7 separate regions of the Homo sapiens genome follow, and all the other regions are linked to region 6. The links are contacts of gene promoters, found by promoter capture Hi-C in blood cells and fetal thymus (Javierre and others, 2016). All regions are on one chromosome and are shown on one strand. The core of a region is centred on a gene start or on the middle of the fragment in contact, and the rest is flanking DNA. Distances in the headings are between cores, read along the strand shown.

Region 1 (2,754 bases), core at 187-2,686, 680 kb before region 6:
ACCATCAGTGTTGTAGAGATGGAAGCTCATGGGGATCAGGTAATAAGCTGAAGATCCAGAATGCAAACAACAGCACCCAGCAGGTATTTTATTAATTGTCAATCAATCTCAGGCTTTTAACAGTCATAACTCAAATAAAGGACAGAGCTCAGTTTGTGCTATATGAAGTAATCCATCATCCTTAAGAGTTACAACATTTGTATTCAGTTGTCCACCTGACATTTCCATTAACTGCCTACTTGGCATCTCAAACCTAACAAAGAGAAATCTTGATTCTCTCCCCCCCAAAACATTCCTGGCCCATCCCTTCCCATCTCAGTAAAACACGATGCTACCCACTCAGTGCATCTGCTCAGAAACTCAATGTCATCCATAATACCGCTCACACTACAAATCTGTCAGCTGTACTTCCAAAATGTATATTCATCTACTCTCTTCATTTCACCACCACCATCTTTTCTGAGCTAAAAGCGTCTCACGTGGACCACTGCAAAGTTTTCTAATTGCTTTCCTGCTTCCTTTCTTCCTCTTTCTCAATCTGCTTTTTACCCACCAGAGCAACTTTTTTTTTTTTTTTTTTTTTTTTTTTTGAGATGGAGTTTCACTCCTGTTGCCCAGGCTGAAGTGCAATGGCGCCATCTCGGCTTACTGCAACCTCCGCCTCCCAGCTTCAAGCAATTCTCCTGACCCAGCCTCCCAAGTAGCTGGGATTACAGGCACCCACCACCACACCCAGCTAATTTTTGTATTTTTAGTAGAGACGAGGTTTCACCACGTTGGCCAGGCTTGTCTTGAACTCCTGAACTCAGGTGATCGGCCTGCCTTGGCCTCCCAAAGTGCTGGGATTACAGGCATGAGCCACCGTCCCCGGCCAGCAACTTCTAAATGAACTACTATCCACACAAATATATATATATAATTTTTTTTTCTACTTTAACTGCACTTTGGCCGTATCAGCTGAGAAATCTGACACAGGTCCTACTGGACTAAAATCAAGGTGTTGGCATGGCTGCATTCCTTTCTGCAGACTCAAGGGAAAATTCATTTTCTTGTGTTTTCCATCTTCTGGAGCTGCCCACATTTATTCGTTCAAGGCCTTTTCCTCTATTTTCAAAGCCAGCAACAGCAGGTTGAGTCCGTTTCAAACTGAAACACTCTTCCTCTTCTGTCACCTCTTCCACTTTTAAGAAACTTATGATTACTTTGGGCCTACTTGGATAATCCAGGATAATATCTCTGGGTGAGGGTCAACTGATTAACAACAGCCTTAATTCCACCTGCAATCTTAACTCCTCTCTGCCATCTAGGGTCATATATTCACACATTATGGAGATTAAGCCATGGACATATATCAGGGGTCATTATTCTTCCCACCACAGTAACTAAGGTTTTTCCTCCTCTTAATTTCTTTATATAAAAACTCACTGTTTAAGCAAAGATACATTAACATTTTAATACGAGGCTTCTAACAGGCAAAAATAAAATATATGACAATAGCACAAAGCACAAGTGGAGCTATATTTTTCCAATGTTTCTAAATTTTAAATGTTACAATATTCATCTTAGGGTGTGATAAGGAACCATACTGATAAGAATCATACTTACAGAGAGAAAGCAATAAATAAAAAAATAATAAAAGTATAGGTAAGATATCAGTAGAGAAAATAAAATGGAGTATCAAAAAATATTCAGTTCACACAAAATAAAGTAGGAAGGGAGCAACAAACCAACAAAAAACAGGCGTAATAAACCAGAAAAAAGAACAAGATGGTAGATTTATATCGCAAAATACAAATAATTATGTTAACTGCTAGCAGGCTAAACACTGAACTTAAAAGACAGGGATTGTCAGGCTAGAATTAAAAAAAAAAAACAAAAAGACCAACTGTACACTGTTTACAAGAGGTGGACTTTAAATATAAAGACATAACTAGGCTTAAAGTAACAGATTAAAAGGATATACCATGCAAACAGTAAACATGAAGAAGGTATGGTAGAATTTATGCGTGTGCATGTGTAGTGGACACAGAGAAAGTATTGCCAGAATAAAGGGTCATCAGTTCATCAGGAAGGAAAAAACCATACATATGCATACACCTAACACCAGAGCTTCAAAATAACTTGAAGTAAAAACTGACAGAATTAAAGGAAAAAACAGACAAATTGACAATCACTGTTGTAGATTTTAACATCCCTCTCTCAATGACTACTTGAAAAGTAGATGAAGAAATAAAAAAAAAGACACAATCTGAACACTATCAGCTAACTGCATCTATTCGACAACCAGTAACTGAGACTCCTCATTCTTCTTGAGTCTACAGATTATTCATCATTAAAAACCATATGCTAGGCCTTAAAACAAGTCTCAATAAATTTCAAGGGATTAAAACTGTTCAGACTTTTTTTTTTAACCACAATGGAATTAAATTAGAATAATAATAATATTTGTAGAAAATCCTGAAATATTTGGAAATTAAACACACAACTAAAAATGCCAGCATCAAAAAAAGACAAGATACATTAAAAATTATTTTGAACTGTATGATAACAAAAACAATGTCAAAAACATGTGAGATATAGTTAAAGCATGGCTGAAAGGGAAATTTATAAATTTATGCTTATATTGGAAAAGTAGAAAGGTTTAAAATAAATGTTATCCTAAGAAGATGAAAAAAGAAGAGCAGGTAAAAGACAAAATAAAAAGAATAAAAAGTACAGTCAATGAAACAGACAACAGATAGCAAAGAAAAAGCA
Region 2 (2,945 bases), core at 445-2,944, 710 kb after region 6:
TTTAGCTGTGTCCCAGAGATTGTGGTACATTGTCTCTTTGTTCTCATTACTTTCAAATAACTTCTTGATTTCTGCCTTAATTTTGTTATTTACCCAAGAGTCATTCAGGAGCAGGTTGTTCAGTTTCCATGTAGTTGTGTGGTATTGAGTGAATGTCTTAGTCTTGAGTTCTAATTTGATTGTGCTGTGGTCTGATAGACTGTTATGATTTTACTTCTTTTACATTTACTGAGGAGTGTTTTACTTCCAGTTATGTGATCAATTTTAGAATAAATGCCATGTGGCGATGAGAAGAATGTATATTCTCTTGTTTTTGGGTAGAGAGTTCTGTAGATATCTATCAGGTCCACTTGATCCAGAGCTGAGTTCAGGTCCTGAATATCTTTGTTAATTTTCTGTCTTGATGATCTGTCTAATGTTGTCTGTGGGGTGTTAAAGTCTCCCACTATTATTGTATGGGAGTCTAAATCTCTTTGTAGGTCTCTAAGAACTTGTTTAATGAATCTGGGTGCTCCTGTATTAGCTTGCATATATATTTAGGATCATGAGTTCTTTTTGTTGAATTGAGCCCTTTACCACTGTGTAATGCCTTTCTTTGATCTTTATGGTTTAAAGTCTGTTTTATCAGAAACTAGGATTGCAACCACTGCCTTTTTCTGTTTTCCATTTGCTTGGTAAATTTTCCTCCATCCCTTTCTTTTGAGCCTATGTGTGGCTTTGCATGTGAGATGGGTCTTTTGAAGACAGCATACTCGTGGGTCTTGGCTCTTTATCCAGTTTGCCATTCTGTGCCTTTCACTTGGGACATTTACCCCATTTACCTTCAATATTACTTTTATGGTTATGTATTGTTATGTGTGAATTTGATTCTGTCATGATGCTAGCTGGTTATTTTGCAGACTTGTTTATGTGGTTGCTTCATAGTGTTACTGGTTTGTGTACTTCCGTGTGTTTTTGTAGTGGCTGGTAATGGATTTTTCCCTTTCATATTTAGTGCTTCCTTCAGGAGCTCTTGCAAGGCAGGCCTGGTGGTGACATATTCCCTCAGCATTTGCTTGTCTGAAAAGGATCTTATTTCTCCTTCACTTATAAAGCTCAGTTTGGCTGGATATGAAATTCTGGGTTGGAAATTCTTTTCTTTAAGAGTGTTGAATATTGGCCCCCAATCTCTTCTGGCTTGTAGGGTTTCCTCTTAGAGGTCTACTGTTAGTCTGATGGGCTTCCCTTTGTATGTAACCTGGCCTTTCTCTCTGGCTGCCCTTAACATTTTTTCTTTCCTTTAGACCTTGGAGAATCTGATGATTTTTTTGTCTTGGGGTTGATCTTCTCATGGAGTATTATACTAGGGTTCTCTGGATTTCCTGAATTTGAATGTTGGCCTGTCTTGCTAGGTTAGGGAAGTTCTGGATGATATCCTGAAGTATGTTTTCCAGCTTGGTTCTATTCTCTTTTATCTTTCAGCTACCCCAGTCAGTTATAGGTTCAGCCTCTTTATATAATCCCATATTTCTTGGAGGTTTTGTTCATTTCTTTTTTCATTCTTTTTTCTCTATTCTTGTCTGCCTGTTTTATGTCAGAAAGACGGTCTTCAAGCTCTGAGATTCTATTCTCTGCTTGGTCTGTGCTTCTGTTGATACTTGTGATTGCATTGTGAAGTTCTCCTGTTGTGTTTTTCAGCTCCGTTAGGTCGGTTATGTTCTTCTCTAAACTGGCTATTAGCTCCCGTATTGTTTTATCATGATTCTTAGCTTTTTTGCATTGGGTTACAATATGCTTCTTTAGCTCAGCGAAGTTTGTTATTACCCACCTTCTGAAGCCTACTTCTGTCATTTTAGCCATCTCAGCCTCAGCCCAGTTCTGTGCCCTTGCTAGAGAGGTATCACAATCATTTGGAGGAGAAGAGGCACTCTGGCTTTTTGAGTTTTCAGCATCTTTGCATTATTTCTCACCTTTGCGGGCTTATCTACCTTTGATCTTTGAGGATGCTGACCTTTGAATGAGGTTTTTGTGGAGTCTTTTCTGTTGATGTTGTTGTTGTTTTCTGTTTGTTTTTCTTTTAGAGTCAGGCCAGTCTTCCATAGGGCTGCTGCGGTTTGCTGGGGCTCCCCACCAGACCTCAGTTGCCTCAGTTTTTCCTGTACCTGGAGGTATCACCAGTGAAGTCTGCAAAACAGCAAAGATGGAAGCCAGCTCCTTCCTCTGGAAGTTCTGTCCTGGGGGTTATTGGCCTGTTGCTGGCCCACATGCATCTGTAGGAGGTGACTGGAAGCCCCTGTTCTGAGGTCTCACCCAGTCAGGAGGAATGAGATCAGGGACCTGTACAAAGAAGCAGTCTGGCTGCTTTTTGATACAGCAGGTGTGCTGCATTGGTGGGAACCCTTCCTCATCCAGACTGCCTGTATAGCCATCAGGCTGGAGTGGCTGAGTCAACCAAACCACAAAGATAGCAGCCACCCCTCCCCCTGGGAACTCGGCCCCATCTCAGACAGACCAACCCACTGCTGTTGGCTGGCTGGCATCCCAAGCCAGTAGGTCATAATTGGTGAGGTGCCATGGAAGTGGATCCCACAGAATGATGCTGCTTGGCTTCCTGGATTCAGCCCCCTTCCTAGGGATATGTACAAACAGATTTCCTGCCTTGCTAGGGATCCCAGGGCCAGAGTATGTAAAACTCCTACGTTTCTGTGTGTGCCTGAGTGGCTGCTCTGCCAACACTCCACACAGATCTGTGGCATGGGCTCACAAAGGGATCCCCTGATTCACAGGTTGCAAAGATCCATGGGAGAAATGTGGTTTCCCGGGAGGGGTCATATAATCACTCACTGCTTCCCTTGGCTGGGGGTGAGGGTTCCTTTTGCTCTGTGCTGCTCCTGTGTGGGCTGTCGCCTTCACCTACTTTTCTTCATTCTCCATGGGTTGATTTGTATGTATGCCTAGTATGTCCG
Region 3 (2,791 bases), core at 280-2,779, 730 kb after region 6:
CTCAAGATGACAACAGTATTTAACTTCTCTTCAGCCTTAATTATGTAAATAACAACCTTTGTATATTCTTTGTGTTTCTTATAATTTTGTTGGGCAGCTAGGTTTTTGTATATTCCTTTCAATAGCGTTAGACTTTGTTGTGATGCACAGTTTAGTTGCAATCAGTTGAATCCTTTTGAAGTTTGCTTTTAAGTAATGTTAGGAATGGGCCAGAGCAGTCTTTATTCTGTTATTAATTTAGTTCCAATACTAAGGTATGGCCCTTCTGTGGGCCAGTACCATATATATTACAGGTTCTATCTGTTCTGGCTGAAGATAACACGAAATATTCCCAGCCATGAGTGAGCTCTAGGAATTGTTTGGTCTACTTGTTTTCCTTTGGATCTTTCCCTAGCCTTGGGTTATTTATCTTTTTTCTCACTCATGTTCAGGTCAGCACTTAGCCAAAAACTTGTGGGAACCCCTCTGTGTTTCCTTTGGAGCTCTCTTTATGTGCAGCTCCTTTCTGTCTAAGATAGTACATTGCCATGCACAGTAGCCACTTCGGTCTCTGAACTCCAGTGTCTTTCTGCACAACTTAATGAGACCACTGGACTCTGTTTTTCTTTGTCCTCTGAAAACTGCCTCCAGGCAGTAAGCTGGAGAAGTATTTGTTTTGTTTTCTGATTTTGAAAGTTTATTAAAACAATTTCTGAAAGTATATTTGAGGTATAAACCAAAGTTGGTACTCCAGGAGCCTTTGTTGATAAGGGATTTTGAATGCTCTGAAAATGAGTACTTGTTTTTGGCTAACTTTATTTTGGTTGAGTCTTGTGTAGGTTTCAGACATGATAGAGCTATTTGCATTTGTTGAATATATGATAAAATATTTTGGCTTATATGTTTATGAAGATGTTATTTAATGGAGCCTCTTGGTTTTGAAAGGTCAGGTTACCTTTCAAGAACTTATGTTTTCTTTTATAGGGCTCAAAATCTCCTTCGCCAAGACCAAACATGCCTGTTCGATACTTCATAATGAAGAGTAGCAATTTGAGAAACCTTGAAATTTCTCAACAGAAGGGTATCTGGTCTACAACTCCTAGTAATGAACGGAAGCTAAATCGAGCCTTTTGGGAAAGCAGCATAGTTTACTTGGTATTTTCTGTTCAAGGATCTGGACATTTCCAGGTGAGCCACCCTGAATCAGTAAAATGGGGTTGTTCTGGCTATAGGTTAAATCATAGAGATTTTTAGAAAAACAACTGGCTTTTCATTGCATCAGAATGCAAGAATGCCTTTTGCTTGACTGAGAATAAGGGATATATTGCATCTCTTTAGAGGATGATAGAACTGGAATCCTCTTTGTTTTTGCCTTGTCTTACCAGAGTCTTTCCAGGTAAACTATGTTTCCTTCTGAAGACAACTTTAGATTTACTAATTCTCAAGTGGATTCAAAGTAATGAGAAGCTTGACCTTTTGGTAAAATATTTATTTAAATAGGCCAAGGAAGTTAGTATTGACAATCAGTAAACTAAGTATGTTTCTTAACCCATCACCCATCTTGACTTAATGTATACCTGAATTTATAAAATAATACATTTATTATTTGATGTTTATTATAATTTTTGGAAATGAAAGCTTAGAGGTTAGCTTGTATCCATTTATCATGGAATAAAAATATGGACTTTGCTATTTTATTTAGAAATCATTATTGATATTTGAAATTGTTAGGAGGCTAGAACTGTTTTTTTCTAAAATTTGCTAAGAGAGCTTTTAATGAAAAATTTAGTAGCTTATTTTTTGTTTTTGTTAGGTATCTGTTATTTCAATATTATATCTTAATCTTAAAATTTTAAAAACTCAGCCTTCTCAGATAAATTAAATTTAGACATGCTAATCTCCTCCTCACCTCTATTCCTTCCTCCCATTTTACCTACAGGGATTTTCTAGGATGTCTTCTGAGATTGGAAGGGAAAAGAGTCAGGACTGGGGCTCTGCTGGACTAGGAGGAGTATTTAAGGTGGAGTGGATACGAAAAGAAAGCCTTCCCTTTCAATTTGCACACCATTTACTCAATCCATGGAATGACAACAAGAAAGTGCAGATAAGCAGGGATGGGCAGGTATACAATGGCATTTTTTTTTTTATTTACTTTTGTTTCTGTTTGTTTTCTGTTATCCAGTGCTTTAATTGAGGAGAAAATGTAAGAGTACAAATTTTATATTCCATATGCACATGGGAAACAGGGGTTCAGGTTTGTAAAAAGATAGTAAAAACCTACTTGTAAATGTGTCTGATTGCTCCTTGCAGTCAGAGTCTCAAGATGACAATAGTATTTAACTTCTCTTTGGCTTTAATTATGTAAAGTAAATAACCTTTTTATATTCTAGTGGCTTGTTTATTTCTATTGTGTTTTGCTTTGTCTTCATGATGCTATTTACATGCATTTTAAGCTAGTTAAGATGATGGAAATTAATGTATATTGACCAAATACTATGCTAGCTGCTTTAGAAGATATAATTTATTTCTTATGATTAAATTATTAGTCCAATTTTATATAGGAGAAAATAGACTCAAAGATTAGTTTTGCCTAAGGTCACACAGCTAATAATTTATCTGAACCAGTATGACTCGTTTCAAATCACCATGTAAAAAGTGTTTGGGTTCTTCTTAAGTGCTTATCATAGGTTATCATTCCACAGGAGTACTATGAAGTGGGATTCTTTTCAATTGTGTGAGAATAATTTCATTTTTATTCTATAATAATGATTTTGAAGAAATATGTTAGCTAGAAATCTTAGAAGAAAAAATA
Region 4 (2,865 bases), core at 130-2,629, 690 kb after region 6:
ATTAATATACCATATAATTCACCCATTTAGGTGACCAATTCAATGGTTTTTCATATGTTCACAGACTTATGCAATCATCACCACAATCAATTTTAGAACAGTTTCATCACCACAAAAAGAAACTTGTACCCATTAGGTGTCTCTCCCTATTCCGCCCCAACTCTCCTAGGCCTCCTCCAGCTTTAGACCAACCACTAATCTACTTCCAGTTTCTATAGATTTGTCTATTTTGGACATTTTATATAAATGAAATCATGTGATATGTGGTTTTTGTGATTGGCTTTTTTCAGTTAGCATAAAATATCCATGTTGTAGCACTATTTTTATGACTAATACATATTCTATGGATATACCAAGGTTTGTTTGTATATTTGTCAATTGATGAACACTTAGGTTGTTTCCACTTTCTGACTATGAATAATACTGGTATGAATATTTGTGTACAGATTTTTATGTGGATATATTTTTTTCATTTCTCTTATATATACACCTAGGAGTGGAATTGCTGGGGCATATGGTAACTCTATGTTTAACCTTTTGAAGAACTGCCACATTGTTTTCCAAAGCAGCTTTACCATTTTACATTTCCACCAGCAATGCATGAGGGTTTAAATTTCTCCACACCCTCTCCAACACTTGTTATTGTCTGTCTTTTTGATTGTAGTCATCCTAGTTGGTGTGAAGTGGTATTTCATTGTGGTTTTGATTTGCATTTCCCTGATAGCTAATGATGTTGAACATCTTTTCATGTGCTTATAGGCCATTTGTATATTTACTTTGGAGAAATGCCTTCAGATTGTGCTTTTCTAAAAGCATTCATTGCCAAATTTTACTTTGAATAATGTGCTTGAAATCAAAACATGAATCATATTATAGCTAGGACATTAAGTGTCACTTACCTTACCTTCCTTAGGGAATATTGGAAATTTGAAGGACATAAGGATTACTTTTGTTAATGGAAATTGACTTTGTCTTTTTTTTTTTTTTTTTTTTCAGTGCTACACTGGAATTTGGAAATCTAGATGAAAGTTCTCTGGTTCAAACAAATGGAAGTGACCTCAGTGCTGAAGACAGAGAGCTCCTGAAAGCTTATCATCATAGTTTCGATGATGAAAAAGTAGACTTGGATTTGATCATGCATCTTCTATACAATATCTGCCATAGTTGTGATGCTGGTAAATACGTGTTGTCTAAAAGAACTGGAGCAAAATATATACTTTAAGAATTAATATTTTAAGTGTACAAATTTTTATATAATTGCACTGATAGTAGTAAGTGAATAATCTCCTGTCATCTTATGATAGTTTACCAGTACTTGAAAACATGTGATACAGATTTTTATAATTCTGTTGATTGCCTCTGATTCACAATGAGATTTAATATTAAAAAGTCATTCTTCTCCAAGGTGCAGTACTAATTTTTCTGCCTGGATATGACGAAATTGTTGGACTGAGAGATCGCATCCTGTTTGATGACAAGCGGTTTGCTGACAGTACACATAGGTAAGGGCTAAAGCCTTATATCTGTTGCTTAAAATAACGGACAGGTCTTATAGTATGTTTTCTCTTTCAATTGTCTGCAGATACCAAGTCTTTATGCTTCATTCAAATATGCAAACATCCGATCAAAAGAAAGTATTAAAAAACCCACCTGCAGGTGTTCGAAAAATAGTAAGCTTCATAAAATCTTCTTTTTAACACTTTCATTAGTTATTTTTTCTGTTTTTTTATTAACTTTAAAGTAATATCTTGTTGCAGATTCTTTCCACCAATATTGCTGAAACCAGCATCACAGTCAATGATGTTGTCTTTGTTATTGATTCTGGTAAGGTGAAAGAGGTATGTATGGGTAAGTTGTAGTTTTACTTAAATGAAGAAGATTAAGTTCTACTTCAACAAATACTTTTATTTATTATTTAGTTGTTTTTCTTTTAATTTTACCTCTACTCAAGACAGCTTGGACCAGCGCATGCTTTTATAAGCAGAATTTACGAAAAATGTCTGGTTCTAGATAAATTTAACATACTAAATATTGATTTTACTAAATATTCTGCCTTAAATAATTCAGTATATAGAATCAATTTTTGTTATTTTAACAAAGTATACAAAAATGTAGCTCTGCTCACCAAATACTAGGAAGAAAGTAAAGGGTTTGGTTAGTTATAGTGAAAATGTTGTCACACAGTATGGGAATTTGATTACATATTTTTTATGTTTTCCTTCTACATATGCACATGGATTATGTCTTTGTTCACTGTTAAATCTTTAGTGCCTCACCTATAGCAGGTGTTCAAAAGATACTCAGTTCAAGAGAACCATGCTGAAAGAAAGCAAAGAAATAGATAAACCATGGGATAACCAGCAGCTAAATTGGACTTAACACTTGCTTTTGTAAAAAAAAAGTTTCATTGGAACTCAGCTAGTCTACTTTTACCTTTTCTCTATGGTTGCTGCCTTCATACTGCAAGGCAGATTGGAGTATTTGTAACAGAGACCCTCTCAAAGCCTAAAATATTTACTATTTGAAAGTCCTTTTCAAAAACAGCCAACCTTTGTTATAAAAAAAAAAAAGCCATTTATTTCCTTTTAGTACTGGAATGCCCAGCAGTTGTCCATGTTCCTAACTTTTGGTAGATAACATTCGCTGAAAAAATGAAAGTGGTAAAGATAATTGATTTTTCAAGGGAAGACATATTACTCATGTGTGGAAAGCAAATTATATCTATTTAGTGGATAAAAATGATCGTTTTTAATGTGAAAAAAGTAATTGCCTTATGTTTTCAATGTAATTTTAAGGAATATTTTATAGAAAATAAAATTTTATTATAAAAATTGGCCATATGCTTTATAATTGAATAAAGGTGGG
Region 5 (3,094 bases), core at 402-2,901, 750 kb after region 6:
TAAAATTGTGTGCAGAAATTTGAGGTATATGCATTTCGCATTTTTGGCGGTGGGAGGGTCCATAACTTCTCCAAGAGGTCTACAATCTACAAAAAATTGAGAAATACTCTCTGGAAAGTTCTATATAATTGCTTTCTCCTTTTGAAAGTTCACTCATTTGTCTGCATTAATTGTCACTAGTATTACTACCTTTTATCCGCTAGATGGTGATATTGTACGTGTTTTCATGCACCAATCATAAGCTTCATTGATATGAATTGAAATAGCTCAGTGGTTTAAACGAAACCTCTTCAAAACCATTTGAGGGAAGGAAGGAATTTTAGAAACTGCATATTCCTTCTCCTTGTCTTACACATGAGGAACTGCGTTCCCAAAAGTTTAAGAGAGAGCCTTGACTGGAAAAAAAACCCCTTTGAAAAAATGGAAAGGATGCCCTGAGGGGAAGGAGCACCTGGAGTCTGGGCTCTCCTCTTTCAACCCCAAATCACTTTAGGATGCACCTCTGGCTAGCTGAGAGACTGGGGGTGGTGCTGGTTGTGGACTTTAGATGCCTTTGGCTCTGAGACACATATATTTCAGTTAAAACTGACCATGACTGAAAATCTGATCCTTCTCTTGGGATCCTGATAATGCTAAAGAGAGCTTTACTTAGGGAAGAGTTTGCAAAGAAAGCCGCTTTTCTCTGACATAAGCCTCCCCTCTCCCCTTTCCTGGTTAGCTTTAGACATTTCTTAAGTGCAGTATGTTATTTTGAGGGCCAAAGGTAACCCTATATAGATGTACGTATTATGATAACAGGAATGAGTGACTGAGGCAAAAGTCTTGTTATCAATGGTGAATATCACAGTTACTGTTGGATAATCTGTGTGGGTCTGCAGCAGCCTCAGTTCTTGACTCCTCAGAAGAAAGAATTCAACTAAGGGGCATAAGGCAGAAGAAAAGACCAAGGCAAGTTTCAGAGCAGGAATGAAAAGAAAGTAAAGTACACTTGGAAGAGGGTCAAGTGGGAATGTTGGAGGTAAAGTGCCCTGTTTGACCTTGGACTTAGGGTTTTATATGCTGCCAGTGTCTTGCCTCCCTTTTACCTTGATTCTTCCCTTGGGGTGAGCTGCCCACATGTGTGGTGCTGCTAGCACTTGGGAGGTGAGTATGTGCAGTATGTTTACTGGAGTTGTAAGCATGCTCACCTGATGCAGTCTTCCGTTTTCCAGAGGAATGCCCCCAGAAAGTCATATACCAGTTAATTTGCACCATTTTGCCTCTTAATGCATATGTTTGAGCCCACTCACCCAATTCCTGAGATCTTATTGGGAAGCTGCTGATCTCCAGTTTCAGTTGTTTTTATCTAATGGGAAACTGCCTTTCTCTGGCAGAGGCTGTGACCAATTATCATTTTGGAGAGGCCATGTGACAAACTGCCTGACCATCACCTGATGGTTGCCTGGCATTCCTGGTGGTGGTTAGGGGAGCCCTCTCTTGCCCTGCTCGTGCCTCATGGCTGTGTCCCCACCCAGATTTCATCTTGAATTCCCACGTGTTGTGGGAGAGACCAGGTGGGAGGTAATTGAATCATGGGGGCAAATCTTTCCCATGCTGTTCCTGTGATAGTGAGTAAGTCTCACGAGATCTGATGGTTTTAAAAAGAGGTATTCTCCTGCACACGCTCCCTCATTTTTTGCCTGCTGCCATCCAGTTAAGATATGACTTGCTCCTCCTTGCCTTCTGCCATGATGTGAGGCTTCCCTAGCCACATGGAACTGTAAGTCCAATTAAACCTTTTTCTTTTGTAAATTGCTCAGTCTCAGGTATGTCTTTACCAGCACCATGAAAACGAACTAATACACCTGACTAGCTACCTACTGTAACAGTCTCAACTATCTAGATTTATTAAGCCAGCTTTAGGGTATTCTGCGAAAAAATAAGCCATAGACATATGTTCTTCTCTGATTGTTTTTCAGAGAGGTTTTCAGGAGTTCAGTATTTATACACTTCCTTAAAGCAGGGGAAGGCATTTGGAAGAGAGACAGGTAGGCAGTTAGATGAATTACATTCTTATGTAATTTGGAAGAGATTACGGCATTTGGAAGAGAGACAGGTAGGCAGTTACATTCTTATGAGACTTTAGTTAGTGGCCAGTGAATCTACATTTTACATGGGATAAAGGGAACCCCTGAAGAGAAAAAAAGGAGTAAAGGAGAATCAATAATGCAGACATTTCTGGGTAGATGGAGGAAGTGACTGACCTCATCTTGTCTTTGTTCTGTACCTGGTAAGATATGTATAACAGACTTTAGTCTTAGGAACTAGACTTAGACTGTAGACCCACAGTTACAATTGGCATGTCCTTGTTTATGGGAGGCCAGCAAATAATTTACTTATGAGTGATCTGTGGAGACAGCCCTCCCTAGATGCCTGAGGCCTTTCACTTCTCCACCTCTCCTTGAGGATCTGGCTGATGCATAATGCTAGTAGCAGCTATTCATTTGCAAGAGGATGTTGCACGACTCAGTCTTCAGGCTTAACCTTCCTTTTGCATAAGGAGTTTGGGGGTCCTGAGATTCTTTAAAATTTTCCTTTACAATAAGCAGTTTTGACAACACTTAAGAGATGTGCTGTAAATATTAGTGTTTGGAGTTCCCAGACATGAAGATAGAGAAAGCCTCAAGTCACATGGGCTGCGAGAGTGGAGCACGGTGGAAAAGTGGCTGGACAGATTCTCACAAGCAGTGGGTCTTCCTCAATGAGTTCTGTGGCATCCTTCATGTTCAGACCATTAAACCAAGGCACCAAATGGAGCTACCACATGTGCTCAGGACCCACGTTTCTGGAGGATAATCCTTCCAAATGAATCCTCCAAAAGTGTCTTTAAGCAGTATCCAAAGCTACTGCTATGTCTTTTCCCCTCCACTTCCCTATTATGTTTGCTCCTCAGTCCTCAGCCACACCCTAGAAAAGACAGGAATCAAAGTACCTTTCCTTCACACTTCTTTCCACCAAAGCTAACAATATTAAATTAATAAAGTGCCTTTTAAAAACCAACCTTTCCATTTGCACTAATAGACAAGCTTTGCTATATCTGAAACTCAAGGTTGTC
Region 6 (3,055 bases), core at 5-2,504:
TCCCGAGTAGCTGGGACTAAAGGCCTGTGCCACCATGCCTGGCTTATTTTTTATATTTTAGTAGAGATGGGGTTTCACCATGTTGGCCAAGATGGTGTCTATCTCCTGACCTCGTGATCCACCTGCCTCGGCCTCCCAAAGTGCTGGGATTACAGGCGTGAGCCACCGCACCCGGCCTTAAAACTATTACAATAGTAACAGCAAACATCACTGATCACCGATCACCATAACAGAAATAATGAAAAGGTTTGAAATATTGCAAAAATTACCAAATGTGACACAAAGTATACGCTGCTGGAAAAATGGCACCAAGCAACTTCTTTCAGGCGGATTTGCCAAAAACCTTCCATTTGTAAAAAGGCAGTATCTACTCGCAGCAGCAAGTGAAGTGCAATAATGAAGTATGCCTGTAGTGATGGCACATGGTATCCTTCAGAAGTTTTAAAAGGTGAATAGTTTTGTTTCGTTTTTCCTAGACGGAGTCTTGCTCTGTTACGCAGGCTGGAGTGCAGTGGTGTGATCTCAGCTCACTGCAACCTCCACCTCCTGGGTTCAAGTGATTCTCCTGTCTCAGCCTCCGAGTAGCTGGGATTACAGGCGTGTGCCACCACACTCGGCTAATTTTTGTATTTTTAGTACAGACGGGGTTTCAGCATGTTGGCCAGGCTGCTCTCCAACTCCTGACCTCATGATCCACCTGCCTCAGTCTCCCAAAGTGCTGGGATACAGGCGTGAGCCACCGCACCCGGCCTAAAAGGTGAATAGCTAAGTTTCTAACGCAGAGCACACTGAAACACAACGTCTATAACTTTGCTAGTTCTACCACTACAAAAATCCATTTTGCCAAACTGAAAGCAAGCTCTAGAGCCCAGGAACGGAGAAAAATTAAACGTAAGGAGTATTTCCTTCCCTGTCTAACATATATTTGCATCCTGAACCACACAGATTCCCCTCGTGGCACAGTCTTCGCCCCTTAACAGAGAGTAGCTAGTACCACCCATACTCGCTGAGAAACTGGAAACGAGGGAGGGTCGAAGTTAAACCCTTTTTAGTGGCGGTGCATGCGCCCCACATGGTCTTCCCGGCTTGGGAAAGGAATGAGAAGCTTTCATGATTCTCTCGCGAGAAGGGAAGTCTTCATGCCACGTCAGAGACTAGAGATCCTGGCGCCGAGCGACAGGTGCCGGAACAAACAGGCGATGAGAAATCGCGGACGCGGAACCATTTCTTGGGCAGGACTTCCGGCGGAAAAGCGGGCTGTCTCGGAAACTCAGAGCCGGGTTCCTCCCGGGTTTCTGCCGGGTTTCTCCCTGCGGCTCCTGGGTTGTTGAGACTCTTGTGAAGATGGCTTGCGCTGCCGCGCGGTCCCCGGCCGACCAGGACAGGTGGGTTCTGAGGCGGTGGGTCCTCCGAAAGGAAGGGGCTTGCTGTGGTGCTGCAGGTGCTACACCGCGCTTCTCCGCTCCGCGGCCTCCAGAATGGCCTAGCTGATCCAACTCGCTCTGTACGGGCCCCGCGCCTCTCCCTGGCAGCTCGTTTTTCTGAATCCTGCAGCAGCCACCAGGCTCTTCTCAGGGCTCCTGAAATTCCGACCATAGGTAGCCTAGTGTTTATCTGTACGCGAGACAAGGATTTTGGGTGCTACGTGGACATGATATCAAGTAATATAATCACAGTGTGAGAAATGTGTTCTTTTTAAGTATTGTTGCGTTCAGAAAGGCTCATTTGTGAAATTTTAAGGTTTTTAATACCTCGGACACTTTATATAAGAGGGCGGGCCCATTCTCAGGAACTTTTGACGGGCTGCTCTGTCTAATGTAACAGTTACCCAAGTCGTTTTGTTTCTATTCCTGTGGTTTTTTTCCATCCAAGGTAGTGGATAAAGTTTATTTTTAAATAAGTTAAAGTGAGGTAATTTAAAGAAATAACATTAAGCAAATAATAGCATAGGTGTACCAGCAATGATGACGACTACCACGGACCGAAAGAATGTATTTTTGAAAATACTTGTTATCTGTTGAGTGTAGTTGTCCAGGTTCTTGGCGTTTTGAATAAGGAATTGAACAAAACACACAAAGCAAGGCAGCGAAAGCAGATTTATTTTAAACAAAAGTACACTCCACAGGGTGGGAGCCGGCTCCAGCAAGCTACCCAAGAGCTGTTGGTTACAGAATTTTCTAGGGTTTAAATACCCTCTAGACGTTTCCCATTGACCTGTGCCAGTCTGATTGGTTGAGGGAGGGGGATCAATCAGAAAGAGGAGTAGGCCCGCGGCCAGTCTGATTAGTTGCTCGAGGGGACCACTCCGAGGTACTTTGATTTTTCAACTGCCACGCAGAAAAAGGAGGGGTTGAAAAGGGAGTACCCATCTGATATCTAGGCAGCATGAATTGGCCTTTGGTTCCCTGCCACCCGACCCTTTTCTCCTGCCTCTTACTGCTCTAGTGATACCACTTATGCTATTGTCTATGGCAGGTTTATTTGTATCTATCCTGCTTATTTAAATAATAAGAAGACCATCGCAGAGGGAAGGCGAATCCCCATAAGTAAGGTAAGCAAGATGGCTGGCACCTTGATCCTCGAGGGAATGGGGGGTGTCATCCTGGTCGGGCCACGTAATCTTGTTAGAGCCGCAGGGGGTTCTCTTCACTGCATTTATTTAGGGCTTGAGAACACAGCCAAGAATTGGGGTGCGTTCCTCAGTGTTGGTGAAACCAGAAAGGCATTAATTCATAGCTGAAGGGATATTTTTTTAACGTCTCTTAATGAGCCTTTGTTTGTAAAGGAGTGGGGGCAGAGTGTAGAGTTCACATGTTTTTAAAACAAAGGTTATGACGGTGTTTCCCTTGATATAGGAAATCAAAATTATGACATTGTACGATACATTAATAATGTTCAGAATGTAGTTGAGATTTTTTTAAGTGTGTGAAGAAGACATGCAGAAAGTTCAGCCCTGTTGAGTTTTATTAAAGTGTCATTTGTATTTTGTAATATGACAGATTTAAGACACCTAGGTTTGATGCAGTGAATTCTCCCATGATGAGTACATCTGGGT
Region 7 (2,500 bases), core at 1-2,500, 700 kb before region 6:
TTCTTTCTTTTATAGAAGTAGGCTTCAAAGAAACAACGAAAGGTGCTAAAACTGGTCTCTGGATGAATCTCTGCTAGGACTTAGAGAAACATGGAGACCTAGTTGTTATCATACAACTTGTCTTGCTGCCACTTGTCCTGTCCCTTCAAGGAGTTATGGTTATCAGGAAAAAAGCCAATTAACAAACTCTGCTTAATTTTTGTGGTGATAATTAATCAACTCTAAGATTTCAGCATAAAATCCCAACACCTTGCCCTGTGTGACAAGACCCTAAGTGCCTTGCTCCTGCCTGGCTCTCCAGCTGCATCTTGTCACTCTACACTCCTTACTCGACTCCAGCCACACTGGCCAAGGCCTGCTGTCTCCAGATCTTGCATAACCGCCTTCACACATCTGCTCGGAGTTCACTTCCAGTCTTCCTATTCCTAGCCCCATGAGCTACTGAACACTTGAAATGTGTCTAGTCTGAACGGAAATGTGCTGGAAGTATAAAATATACACCGGATTTTTATGACTTAGTAGATATAAAAGAAATATCTTATTAATAATCTCATATTGATTGCCTGTTGAAATATTTAAAATATGTTGGGTTATTATTAAAATTAATTTGATCTGTTTCTTTTTACTTTTTTTTTTTTTTTTTTGAGACGGAGTTTCGCCCTTTTGTCCAGGCTGGAGTCAAGTGGCATGATCTCGGCTCACCGCAACCTCCACCCCCACCCCGCCCGGGTTCAAGCCATTTCTCCTGCCTCAGCCTCCCAAGTAGCTGGGATTATAGACGCCCGCCACCAAGCCCAAGTAATTTTTGTATTTTTAGTAGAGACGGGGTTTTGCCATGTTGGCCAGGCTGGTCTTGAACTCCTGACTTCAGGTGATCACCTGCCTCAGCCTGCCAAAGTGCTGGGATTACAGGCATGAGCCACCGCGCCCGGCGTTCTTTTCACATTTTATGTGGCAATTGGAAAATTTAAAATTACACTCATGGCTCACACTGTTTCCATCGGACAGCGCTACCCTATGGCATGACCCTCTTTTGCTGCCCTCCTGGCACTTACATTGTAGAATTTCAGCATCCGGGCTCACTTGGTCAGTGGCCTACTCACCCAAGCAGAATGTACCACAGAAACCTTGCCTGGCTCACCCACACCTGATTCCCAGGCACTCAGGCCAGGGCCTGGAGCATAGTAAGTGCTGACTAAATATCTTTCGAATGAATGACTCTACTCTTCCTCAGCTGGACTCATGAATTCTGTCGGGTCCCAAAATACGTGGTCTAAAGTCCTTTGGGCTCCTGCCGCTGCCAGCACTGATCATATGCTCTTGACCCTGGTCGGGTGGGGGGATGTCTGGATACCTCCTCTGTGGAAAGAACTGGCCACACATCCGCAGAGGTGACTCGGGCTGAGAACCCAGGCTCCTCCTCCCTTTGGTGACACGCCCCTCGGTCCCTCACTGGCACTTCTCCCTCCGGCCACACGGCGGCGTCTCGCCATAGCGCAGCGGCCGATGGTACAGCCCGCTCCCCCCTCGCGCTCTCGGACAGTGGGTCCTTCCACTTGTAGAAAAGCATTGTGGGACGGAAGCCTGTCCTTTCTTCCTTTTGGTGCGAGCTTGCTGTGGTTTTTGCTCTGGGTCCTCTGGGATGGCGCCTGGCTGTGGCCGCGTGGTCTCTCACGCAGGGGCGCCGGGCGGGGGAACGCGGCCACCCTGAGTCTGGTGAGTCGACTGCGGCGGCCTGTGTCCGAAGTGTCCGGGGCCGTGAACAAGGGCAGCGGCCTGGCCTCAGGCCTGCGTTCCCACGTTTGGAAACGGGGAGCTTCGTCGATTTGTGTTTACATCATCGACTATGCCAGGGAGTTCTCCAGATAAGCCTGGTTTTATTTTCGTCAGTGAAAAGGCCTTACCGTATAACTGACTTTATGCTTGCCCTGCCCCCGTATAAAATAACTTAAAAGCAGCGTGCCTGGTTACAGCTGTTTCCACGTGCGGTGCTCGTCGGGAGTGATCACCTACCCTACAGGTGAGTTTTCACGTTCGTGCAAGACCAGTCGCCATTTAAAACGCATCGCATTTCACTTTTCATTATTAAGTCGGATTTTAAATCGTGAGAAAATTTCTCTGAAATGTATTGTCCGTTTTTAGGCTGTAATCGGCATTACTGTCAGCCAGTCAGCAACCTTATGCCATAAAGCCTACCTCACGCAGTGTCAGCCTTTGTGTTGCCCATTCACTTTGGAAACTAGTGAATGTGGTGTCAAAAAAGGCGTAAATTAAACGCTTTGCAGCCTTTTCCTGCCCTTAAATTTGATACCTTTGGTGTAGGAGCTGCATAAGTAACAGTTGCTGCTTTTACGTTTCCACGCGTGATCTTGACCCTGCTAGCCTTAAGTGTATGGTTTCTCTTAGCCAGTTCTAATTTTTGTTCAGGTGGAAGATGGATGCCTGAAGTGTAGACTGCTGCTAGCTGAATACCATCTGGGAGCATAAAGGTGACCTGAAG

What was found. The method cuts DNA at HindIII sites, captures the fragments that hold promoters and counts their contacts. A CHiCAGO score of 5 or more calls a contact.
Region 1: a contact is called between a fragment that was not itself captured here and the fragment with the promoter of SRP19 in region 6, in 3 of 17 cell types (total B cells, erythroblasts and naive B cells). The highest score is 7.2, in total B cells.
Region 2: a fragment that was not itself captured here is called in contact with the fragment with the promoter of SRP19 in region 6 in 2 of 17 cell types (total CD4 T cells and megakaryocytes); the score reaches 6.5 in total CD4 T cells.
Region 3: a fragment that was not itself captured here is called in contact with the fragment with the promoter of SRP19 in region 6 in 13 of 17 cell types (naive CD4 T cells, total CD4 T cells, total CD8 T cells and 10 more); the score reaches 13.5 in naive CD4 T cells.
Region 4: a fragment that was not itself captured here is called in contact with the fragment with the promoter of SRP19 in region 6 in 13 of 17 cell types (naive CD4 T cells, total CD8 T cells, activated CD4 T cells and 10 more); the score reaches 15.8 in naive CD4 T cells.
Region 5: a fragment that was not itself captured here is called in contact with the fragment with the promoter of SRP19 in region 6 in 7 of 17 cell types (naive CD4 T cells, fetal thymus, naive CD8 T cells and 4 more); the score reaches 15.5 in naive CD4 T cells.
Region 7: the fragment with the promoter of EPB41L4A-AS1 here is called in contact with the fragment with the promoter of SRP19 in region 6 in 7 of 17 cell types (total B cells, naive CD4 T cells, naive B cells and 4 more); the score reaches 10.2 in total B cells.

Annotation. Positions count from the first base shown.
Region 1 is chr5:112,176,182-112,178,935 of GRCh38, forward strand. All of the region lies in intron 18 of EPB41L4A (erythrocyte membrane protein band 4.1 like 4A), which reads right to left. Among named protein-coding and RNA genes, the nearest start is that of SNORA13, 16 kb to the left of the region's middle. The HindIII fragment of the contact is 4,623 bases long and covers 1-2,754 here.
Region 2 is chr5:113,572,135-113,575,079 of GRCh38, forward strand. All of the region lies in intron 23 of YTHDC2 (YTH N6-methyladenosine RNA binding protein C2), which reads left to right. Among named protein-coding and RNA genes, the nearest start is that of YTHDC2, 60 kb to the left of the region's middle. The HindIII fragment of the contact is 6,540 bases long and covers 1-2,945 here.
Region 3 is chr5:113,590,078-113,592,868 of GRCh38, forward strand. YTHDC2 (YTH N6-methyladenosine RNA binding protein C2) reads left to right here. Exons shown (of 30, transcript NM_022828.5): 27 at 964-1,167; 28 at 1,919-2,101. Among named protein-coding and RNA genes, the nearest start is that of YTHDC2, 78 kb to the left of the region's middle. The HindIII fragment of the contact is 171 bases long and covers 1,445-1,615 here.
Region 4 is chr5:113,552,185-113,555,049 of GRCh38, forward strand. YTHDC2 (YTH N6-methyladenosine RNA binding protein C2) reads left to right here. Exons shown (of 30, transcript NM_022828.5): 13 at 997-1,175; 14 at 1,406-1,502; 15 at 1,583-1,670; 16 at 1,758-1,838. Among named protein-coding and RNA genes, the nearest start is that of YTHDC2, 40 kb to the left of the region's middle. The HindIII fragment of the contact is 587 bases long and covers 1,087-1,673 here.
Region 5 is chr5:113,611,971-113,615,064 of GRCh38, forward strand. No RefSeq gene overlaps it. Among named protein-coding and RNA genes, the nearest start is that of YTHDC2, 100 kb to the left of the region's middle. The HindIII fragment of the contact is 2,823 bases long and covers 241-3,063 here.
Region 6 is chr5:112,860,033-112,863,087 of GRCh38, forward strand. SRP19 (signal recognition particle 19) reads left to right here and starts at 1,255. Exons shown (of 5, transcript NM_003135.3): 1 at 1,255-1,385; 2 at 2,476-2,551. The coding sequence starts at 1,345. RefSeq lists enhancers at 1,020-1,314, 1,073-1,152, 1,253-1,552. The HindIII fragment of the contact is 2,166 bases long and covers 1,104-3,055 here.
Region 7 is chr5:112,159,276-112,161,775 of GRCh38, forward strand. It overlaps EPB41L4A-AS1 (EPB41L4A antisense RNA 1), which reads left to right and starts at 1,251. Exons shown (of 3, transcript NR_015370.2): 1 at 1,251-2,020; 2 at 2,428-2,500. SNORA13 (small nucleolar RNA, H/ACA box 13) reads left to right here and starts at 2,210; the gene lies at 2,210-2,342. It also overlaps a transcript of EPB41L4A not described here. RefSeq lists enhancers at 1,118-2,317, 1,136-1,345, 1,218-1,950, 1,726-1,825, 1,846-1,895 and 1 more. The HindIII fragment of the contact is 7,805 bases long and covers 1-2,500 here.